Linked DNA regions of Homo sapiens: region 2 is linked to region 1. Evidence: promoter capture Hi-C in 16 types of primary human blood cells and fetal thymus (Javierre and others, 2016). All regions are on one chromosome and are shown on one strand. Each heading gives the region's core, a stretch centred on a gene start or on the middle of the fragment in contact. The rest is flanking DNA. Distances are from core to core; before and after follow the strand shown. Region 1 holds the start of TBX21 (T-box transcription factor 21). Region 2 holds the start of MYL4 (myosin light chain 4).

Region 1 (4,766 bases), core at 1-2,500:
AATCTCCCCCCGTACACACACACCACCACCACCGCTACCACCACCACTACCACCACTAAAGCTGACCTGAGCACACCAGCAGCAAAGGAGCCGGGGGAGGTGGGCGCAGGGGGCCCGGAGATAAGGGGCTCCCTTCCCCTCCAGTTTCCCACACAGGAGGCCCAGGCGTCCTGTCCGCCCAGAGCACAGGCTTTCACTGCCCGCTGCGACTCCTCTACAGTAGAGAGTGGGGCAGGGGCGCACACCAATTCTAGGTGAAGCCACAGTCACCCTTCCCCTAAATCAAGGTGACTTCTCACTGTCCCGCACTCACCCGTCTCCCTTGTGAGTCCTCTGGCTGTTGGTGCAACAGCCTGGGCACAGACGCCCCTCCGGAGCTTTCCCTGTCCTCCTAACAACCCCATTCCCCTGTCTCCCTACGCTGAAGCCAAAGCAGTGAGGGACACGGAGTCAGAAGCATTGTCGAGCCAGAAAAACAGACGAGACGTTCTTGTTCCGGCGCGGGCACAGAGGCCCCAAGGGCCGGCGCGCCGCACTCACCGTCCCTGCTTGGTGATGATCATCTCTGTCTGGTGCTGATTAAACTTGGACCACAACAGGTGGTTGTTGAGCGCGACCCTCAGTTTCCCCGACACCTCCAGTCCCGCGGGTAGCGCGTAGTCCTCACGCGGCCCCGGGTAGAGCCCGGCGCGCGGGTCCGGGGCGGCGTAGCCCTCGCCCGGCTGGTAGCCCTCGGCGTCCGCGGGCGGCGGGAAGGACTCGCCCGCGCCGGGGAAGCCGGCCGCCTGGGGTCGCGGCGGGTAGGCGTAGGCTCCAAGGAAGCGGCTCGGCGGGGCGGGCACCAAGGCGCCCCCCGGGTAGGGAGACCCCAGGCTGCCGCCCCCGCGACGCTCGTCCGCGTCCTGCGCGCCCGGCTCCGGGTAGAAGTAGCGGTGCTGCGGGTCGGCGCCAGGCGCCCGGCCCTCGTCGCTCCCCGGCATCGGCTCGGTGCCCGTCAGCATGTCTCCGCAACCCGGCTCCACGATGCCCATCCGGGGCGGGCTGGCACCTTCCCGTAGCCGTCGAGGACCCGCCCCTCCGCGCGCGAGAGGGTCGCGTGGGCTGGGATGGGCAGGGAGCAGGGGGCGGGGGACCCGAGGGCCGGGTGGGGGACCCCACCGGAGCCCGGGCTCTGACGCCTGGCTTCTACGCCCTCGTCCGGCAGGCGCGCGGCAGCTCTCGGGCTTCCTCTCCAGCGGGCCGCTGTCACTAGAGTCGCAGCGCTTTGCTGTGGCTTTATGAAGCTCTCCGGCTCCCCCCCACTCCGCCACCTCGGCCCTGCTCCGCCTCGCCCCACCCCGCCCTCTCGTGGCTAATACTAGGCAAATTCTACGCTCTTGGCGAGTACTGCAGGGCCCCCCATGGTGGAGAGAAGCGAGAGCCTGCGCGCACCCTGTAGTTCGAAGATCTTGCTTTCTGGGAGTGTCAGCTCCGCTGCCTGACACACCAGCCCGTGGCTCTCTTCTGGACCCTCGGGGAAATTCAGCCCAGCTTTGAAGTCTCAGCTCAAAGGCCCTCTCCTACAGGAAGCCTTCCGAGATGGCCCAAGTGGGACTCGCTGGGCATTCTCCTGGCACTCAGAGGCTCGGAGCACGGGCACACTAGAAGCAACTTTGACCATGAACATTCAATCGATCTTTATTGATACCTACTGTGTGCCCAGACTCTGTGCTAAGTGACCTTTCGGGTTGCCCTCTTTCTCCCCACCAGAGGTCCACATGTGCTGAGTTGGCTGCATCTTGTAGCTCTAGCCCTGGGGGCAGACCTGGAACCTGATGGACAACAGGAAATGTTCCTTAAAGCGCACTGCATCAGCAGCAGCCAGGGGTTTGCAGGGCCCTGAGCTGGGCCTGGCAGGGCCCACAAAAGCTCCCCTACCCTGCATGGCAGTCATGGGCACTGGAAGTAGCATTGGGCTGCCAGTGCTGAGAGTCCCAGGTCTGGCTCTGCCTGCCAGGTATATGTGACCCAGGCAAGTCATTTTCCTTGCCTGAAAGTCAACCTCACGTGCCTCATCCATAGACTGGGGGAAATAAACAGATCTACTTTTCAGGGGGGCTGCAAGCCTTACATGAGAGGGTGTACGTGTGCAGCACTTTCCAATCTATTATTATACCTGGATGGAAAAGCTGCTTTGAACAGATTCAGAGCCGGCTGACAGGAAGGAAACCCACCACATGCTCTGAAGGGCTGCCTCGGAGATAGGACGATGGAGGCTTTTCTTTCTCCATTTTCCTTTTATGTTAACTAATGTATTAGACTCCTTTTATGATGAAAACTATCCGTTTCCCCCCCCCCAATTGAAAATAGCATCATTGGGAGTTTTCCTGTGTATAAAGATGAAACATACTTATATAGGAAATTTAAGCAGCACAGAAAAGTAAAAACAAGACTGTATAAATCACCCCAAATTCCACCCCCTAAAGCCAAACAGGATTAACATTTCAGTGAACACCCTCTGAGACCTCACTCCTTATATACTCTCTGTCTCTGTCTTTTGCACACATGCACAAATATATAATTTATATAAACACTACACATGCTGCTTTATAATGTGTACTTTTTTTTCACTCCACAAGGTGTCATGGAATATTTTGCATATCAGTATATAGATAAAGATTTACATTTTTAAGAGTACTTTGAAAAATACTTTAATATTTTTGTCATGTTAAAGTTTAACTTCTCCTCTCTCTACCTTCACCCCAGTCCTCCCCAGTTCTCCCCTGGGAACTGGCCCCAGCTCTACATTTCTGTCCCAGCCTGACAGGGCTTCACCCTTAGGGGCCTATGGGGACTCTCTGCTCCCAAATAGAGCTGAACCAAGAGGCAAGTTGGCAGGCAAAGGCAAAGCTGGGGACTCCAGGAGGTGGGCATGACCCAGGGAGGCTTGGGGGAGAGAGAATCAGCACATCTTTTGAGGTTGGAGACCGGATACATGACAGTACCAGAAACACAGGACTGGCCTCCTCCCCAACACCTTACCCACCATTTCTCCGTACCTTAAGGAACAGGGAAGTTTCTGCCTGATGTTCAAAGTGGGGCAGCATTGCTTGGAAGAGAGGGTGACCTTGGGATCCTTCACTACTTTTGGGGAAACATGAGAGCTTTCAGTAAGACCCTCCTGAATGACTGATTCCCTAGGAGATGTGAGACTGTTGAATGCTGACACCCCTTTGGGGGACATTTTTGCTCAGTGCTTGGCTGTTGAAGATCAAATGGAGTCTTGCTCCTCCCTCTCTCTCCCCCTCCTCTTTTCCACATTAATCCTCAGGTCAAGTGATTCATCCCCTTGCCTCTGAACAGGATGACATGAGCTCCCACCCAGCTTTCTGGGGCAGGTGGAATTATGAATCTCAGAATCAGGTGGCCCTGGGGCCATGCCTCTGGAGGAAGAGGAAGGCTGGGGGTGGTCTCTCTAGAACCTGACAGGCTGTTATAGGGTCTTACAGCCTGGTTCCTCAATCCCCGATTTCTCACCCCCTCTCTCCAATTTCTTCCACCCAAAAAAGAAAGTGCTTGTGAAAAGCGGGGGCTGAGTGGCCCTGGTGTCACTGCTGCCAGTCCCGCCCCTCTGCCAGCTTGGGTGAGAATAAGGGCCCTGGCAGTGACACCTTCTCCTCCAGCTGCCACCTCACCCTCCTCCCGGGCCCTGGGGCTGGAAAGGTGGGAGAAGAGGAGTGAGGAGATGAGGCCCCCTGGGATCCCCTCACTTCCCCATGGCTGCTCCTCCCAGCCCTCTCTATCCCATCAATACAGGGAGCATTATGAGGCTGGTCCTGGTGAGACCGGAGTGAAGAAACACAAGATAAGTGTCCAGGAATGAGAGAGACATGGCCTCCAACCAGCATCACATTTTATGAGACACGGTGGATGGTAACTATGCAAAATGGAATAAGACACCAAACTCACACAGTGCATTTGTGGCAGAGCTGAAGCTAGAACCCAGGTCTCTTGACTCCCAGGCCAGTGCTCTTCCCACAAGAATGAGGAAGAATCATACTAACACTGGAAAAGGTTTAGAAAACAGGCCGGGCGTGGTGGCTCATGCCTGTAATCCCAACACTTTGGGATGCCAAGGCCAGCAAATCACTTGAGGCCAGAAGTTCTAGACTACCCTGGCCAACATGACAAAACCCCATCTCTACTAAAAACACAAAAATTAGCTGGGCATGATGGGCGCCTGTAATCCCAGCTACTCAGGAGGCTGAGGCAGGAGAATCACTTGAACCCAGGAGGCAGAGGTTGCAGTGAGCCGAGATCGTGCCGCTGCACTCCAGCCCGGGAGACAGAGCAAGACTCCATCTCAAAACAAAAACAAAAACAAAAATAAAAATTAGCAGGTGTGGTGGCTGGCCCCTGTAATCCCAGCTACTCAGGAGGCTGAGGCAAGAGAATCACTTGACCCCAGGAGGAGGAGGTTGCAGTGAGCTGAGACTGTGCCACTGCACTCCAGCCTGAGTGACAGAGGGAGACTCGGTCTCAAAGAAACAAAAAGAAAAAGAAAAGAAAAGGTTTAGAAAACAGAAAAGAAAATCATGCCTAATCCCACAGCCTAGACACTGGTTCTCTCCACGCTGTTGTCCTCTGCAAACGTTCAGGGCTTCCTTTCAAACTGTTTCCCATGAAGACTCAAAATGAGAGAGGCTCCCCGAAGGTCACACAGCACTTGCTTCACCTGTGGGCTGCAGACTATGCCAGGAAGCCACAACGATGTGGATTTCTGGGAC
Region 2 (4,819 bases), core at 923-3,422, 520 kb after region 1:
CCAGGAATAAACATGTAAGAGCAATTAATGTAAAAACTTAAAATCTCAATAGACGTGGTCCTAACTACACACACTGGGCTTAAGTTTGCTTCTGTTCTATCTTCGAATCTTTTTTATAATTTATTTATTTATTTGTAGAGACAAGGATCTTGCCATGTTGCCCAGGCTGGACTCAAATGCCTGGCCTCAAATTACCCTCCCGCCTCAGCCTCCCAAAGGGCTGGGATTATAAACATGAATCACCTCATCTGGCTTCTCTTCTGTCTTGGAGTAAAGAACCTTCTAATCAAAGGAACTGGGTAAGTATAACACAATAATAGGGAAAATGTCTCTCATAAAAGATACCTATTTTTTTTCTACTTCAAAGCAACTTCAACAACCCCCATGAAGATGCAGATATGGAAAAGAGGATTGCAACCAGGGGTGCAATTTCTCACGGGTGAGAAATTGAGAGAGGAGAGTGAATGAAAGAAGTGACAGGCCAAGGGAAGGACACCAGTTTGATGCCACTAGGCAGCTGTTGCCCAGACACCAGGGACAAGGCCTGGCAACCCACCCAAAGGCACAGTGCTTTATGGGAACAAATCAGAAATAAAGGCGAGGAGGGATCCTGAAGGGTGAAATAGTCAGCTTTTCCTGCCAGGCTCAGCTTGTAAATGGAGTGATGTATGACCTAGAAAACCTGCAGGTGTTTTCAGGGTCCTACAGTAGCCTCAGTTTCCCCAGAGTGAGCCATAACCAAGCTCAGAAAAGGGACAATTGCCTCCATCTCTTGGCTAAGCAGTTCCTGTCCCTTGCGGGGACTGGGTCTTTGGCATAATACTTGTAGGGTTATCCCGGCTGTGGGTATGAGAGGAATTCTCAGAGGGCAGGGAGGTCATACAATTAGAGCTCTGGGTTTTAATTTCCCTGCCTGCTTGTCACAGAACCTTGTCCTGTGCTCTTATTTTGACCTGATCCCTCACCACCCCCAGCCCTGTCCTAAGGCTGAGATCCCTGGGGGCTCAGCACTCCCAACCTGTTATTAATAGCTCTTCATACCAGTAGCCACTTGACCTTTTCCACTCTGGTGCCAAGGCTTAAAACTGCTCCTCTTCAGAGGTCTCTGGCCCCCTCCCTCTTCAGCCCACCCCTCTCCCACCAGTTCCATTCCTTCAGCAGCTGGGCCAGAGAGCTGGGAGGTCTAAAATGACTGAGTCAGCATGCAGGGCCCACACCAGCTCCAGGGAGAGGAATGTTTTGTGTGAGGAGAGCAGGGTGGGGCAAAGGAACCAGGCCCAGCTTCCTGACCCGGTTGGAGAGAGGGTCTCAGCCCAGGGTGGGCCAGTCCTCTGCATGCTACAGATAGGAACCCAGGCTAAGGCCACAGAAGGAAAGGCCCGTCTGGGTAAGGAAAGAGAGAGAGGAATCCGGGCTCCTCTTACCTTAACCACAACCTCCTTCCCACCCTGCCCTCACCTGCCGTAAGAGTGTTTGTGAGTGAAGCCTTTCCCAAACTGCCATGCACAGGGAGGATATTCCCTGACTGTTTATATCACTTACTCCAAGTTACACTGGCAGCTGCCATGATCTGTCTGTTCTCCATAAAGATATCCCACTACCTCCTAGGAAAAGGCTAGTCTGTTTTACTTTGCTATGGTGGTCCTCATAATGCCTTATAAAAGGGTGGATGGATGGTTGGTTGTACCTCCCCCCATTCCCAACTTAGCTGCACAAATCTAGGGTAGCAGGACAGGGCTCCCTCAAAGCAGCACCTCATTCTTGACGGAAAAGGTTTATGACTCAATCTCCCCCTCATCAGCCCCAACACCCACTCCACTGCCCCATGGGACTGCGATCTGGGGCATGGACACCCTAGTCCTCATCCCAGTCCAGCCCACATAAAGTAGATCGCTAAGCTCCAGAGCAAAAGGACTCTCAATGTCATCCCCACCTCTATCCCAATGGCTGAGCCTCACTTACCTTTACACTCTTGGGGTCAAAGGCAGGTTCCTTGGGAGCCTCAGGAGCTGGGGCAGGGGCTGGTGCAGGGGCTGGAGCTGGAGCTGGAGCTGGCTTGGCTGCCTCCTTCTTAGGCTCAGGCTTCTTGGGAGCCATGTTGTCTTGTTGGGATCTTTGGCAGAGGAGTGATCTAAGAAGAAACCGAGAGACGTGGCGTCTGGGAGATGAGATAGGAGCCTGGGCTGCCTCCCTTCCCTTTTATCCTGGGCAGGAGCCCCCACAGAGGGGCTGGGTGAAAGCAAGAGCAACTGCTGCTGACTATAAAAGGAAGAAACGCCAGCAGGGTACAGCTGACAACTGTGTATTGTCACCAGGTTTGGGGCCACCAGCCCCCTCCCCTTCATGCCACAGCTCTCTCTTCACCTCTAGGACAGGCTGATCCCTTCTTGCCAATTGGTGGAAACCCAGAAGGACCAGGGAAACAGACCTTCTCAAATATGCCGGAGCAGCCAGAGAGATGAGCTGACTTGAGCAGTTGATAAGCCTCACACAAAGCCCAGGGGAGGGTGAGGCTTTTTTTAGCCCCTCCCGAGCAGAGGCAGCCCACTGCACATTCCTTCTAAGCCAAGATCCTTTAAGCTGAGAGCCACTCTGGGCCCTCAGCTCTGCCTAGAGGCCCAACTCTCCAGGCATGGAGCTCTGAAGCAACAGCTGGTCCAGCCAACCCACACTGCCCCACACCCTCCCAACTCACAGGATGAAAGCCTCCATTTTCCAGAGCAGGCATCCCAGGAACTCCACAGACCTCAGATCCCTAGATCTACCCCCTTACACACAACCTCAGTCATTCATTCAACAAGTAGTGAGCACTGAACCCATGCCTAGGCACCTAGGAGAGAAGCAGAGAGATGTGGTAGAAAGTCGAGGAGACTGAGGGTCAGAAAACTTGGGGTTTAGTTTTCACTTTACCTCTAACTCATTCTGTGCTCTGTGTGTGTGTGTGTGTGTGTGTGTGTGTGTGTGTGTGTAGTGCTTACTACTATCAGTACCAGGAACTGTTAAGTGCTATTCATATAAAATCTCATTAAATCTTCACCATGATCCTATAAGGTAGATACTATTTTGTTTGTTTGTTTGTTTTAACAGAAACAAGGTATCGCTCTGTTGCTCAGGTTGCAGTGCAGTGGTGCAATCACAGCTCACTGCAGCCTCGTCTTTCCTGGCTCAAGCGATTCTCCCACCTCAGCCTTCCGAGTAGCTGGGACTACAGGTGCACACCAGCACACTTGGCTAATTTTGGGGGAGTTTTTTTGTTTTTTGTTTTTCAGTAGAGATGAGGTCTTGCTAAATTGCCCAGGTTGGTCTTGAACTCCTGAGCTCAAGGGATCCACTAGCCTCGGTCTTCCAAAGGGCTGGGATTATAGGCATAAGCCGCCACGCCAGGCCAGGTAGATACTATTATTATTTTCACTTTACACATGGGGAGATTGAGACTAAAACTGGATGAACAACTTGGCCAAGGTCACTCAAATAATTAGCTATAAGCTGGGATTAGATGTAGATATGTCTGAGTCTAAAGCCTATGCTTGAATAATGTATATGATAATCCAGTTGTCGGGGAGAGACATACAAGTTTCTGCATTTATTGGAGGAGTCAGGATGGATACACGCTGAACTGTTAACAGAGACACCTCTGGGGACCTAGGGGGTAAGGGTGGGAGGATAACAGCAATTTGCAGTTTTTTACTTTTTTCACTTCCTGTATTAATGGAAATTTTTATAACGAGCATTTACTGTTTATGTAAAAAAAACTTTGAAAGTCAACAAAATAATTCAGAAAAATAACAACAAAAAAGCTTATGTATCCACTACACAAAACTGCTTTGTGCTGAATCTTTAGACTCTACAGTTCAGAGGAAAAGAGGAATAAAGCTGAGAGAGGCAAAAAAATCACTTCGCCTTTCTAGGCCCAGTTTCCTCACCTGTAAAGCAAGATTGCTAGACTACAGAATCCTGGTTGCTGTTAGCTCCTAAGCCTGCAATTCTGGGTGCCCTGGAGCCCACATCTGCCCATTTCCCAGCTCTCTAACTACAGGTTCCATGCCCCAGATCATTGCCTTCAGAGCCAGAAGGACCCTTAGAGATCATCTGGCCCCATGCTGTTTTACAGGCAAGGAATCTAAGGTCCAGGGAAACGTTGAAGTTGCCTCAAGACATTCAGCTACTTATAGGCAGAGCTGGGCCAACTAATTCTGTTTCCTGGGGTGCAGTGCTCTCTGTAGCACACTGCTCTTCACTGCTCCTCCTGTAGCCTATACACGCTCACTGGTGGTGACAGAGAAGCCCTCAAAGGAAACGGGCAGGAAAAAGGGCCAGGACTTGCTCAAGGGAATACTAGAACGAGACCAGGGCCCAGATTCTAGCCCAGCCCTGGTCCTGAGCTGGGATGGTGGCTCCTTTGCTCTGTGCACCTCACCTCCTCCCCTCATCTTCTGCCTCACCTCTCTTCCTTGCCGGCTACCAAACTTGATTCCTTGTACCTTCGCTCGCACTCTTCTATAATCCCTGTCAGTCCTCTCCTTGACCTACCCCATTCCCCACAGGGGTTGGGAGTTCAGGTTGTTGGTGACGAGGAAAGAGAAAAAGTGGAAGCCCAGGCCCTCCTCCTTCTCCACCTCCACCTGCATCCCTTCCTGGACTGCATCCTGCGGAGTTTGTGCAAAAATATACAAACTGGGATTTCTGTAAAGAGCTGCAGGATAGAAGCTGGGAGACCCAGGCACTAGTCCTGACTCTGCCAGCCACTTCCTCTCTCTGGGCCTCAGCTTGCTTATTTTAAAAGGAAAAACAATCAGGAGACTTTCAAACCATGTTCAAC

What was found. Contacts are between HindIII fragments. The CHiCAGO score rates a contact against its expected background, and 5 or more counts as called.
Region 2: a contact is called between the fragment with the promoter of MYL4 here and the fragment with the promoter of TBX21 in region 1, in 2 of 17 cell types (neutrophils and naive CD8 T cells). The highest score is 6.2, in neutrophils.

What each region holds. Positions count from the first base shown.
Region 1 is chr17:47,729,720-47,734,485 of GRCh38, reverse strand. It overlaps TBX21 (T-box transcription factor 21), which reads right to left and starts at 1,250. Exons shown (of 6, transcript NM_013351.2): 1 at 541-1,250. The coding sequence starts at 1,031. RefSeq lists an enhancer at 462-511, silencers at 692-861, 892-1,431 and a promoter at 1,243-3,242. The HindIII fragment of the contact is 7,327 bases long and covers 1-4,766 here.
Region 2 is chr17:47,206,701-47,211,519 of GRCh38, reverse strand. It overlaps MYL4 (myosin light chain 4), which reads right to left and starts at 2,172. Exons shown (of 7, transcript NM_002476.2): 1 at 1,963-2,172. The coding sequence starts at 2,097. The HindIII fragment of the contact is 17,980 bases long and covers 1-3,799 here.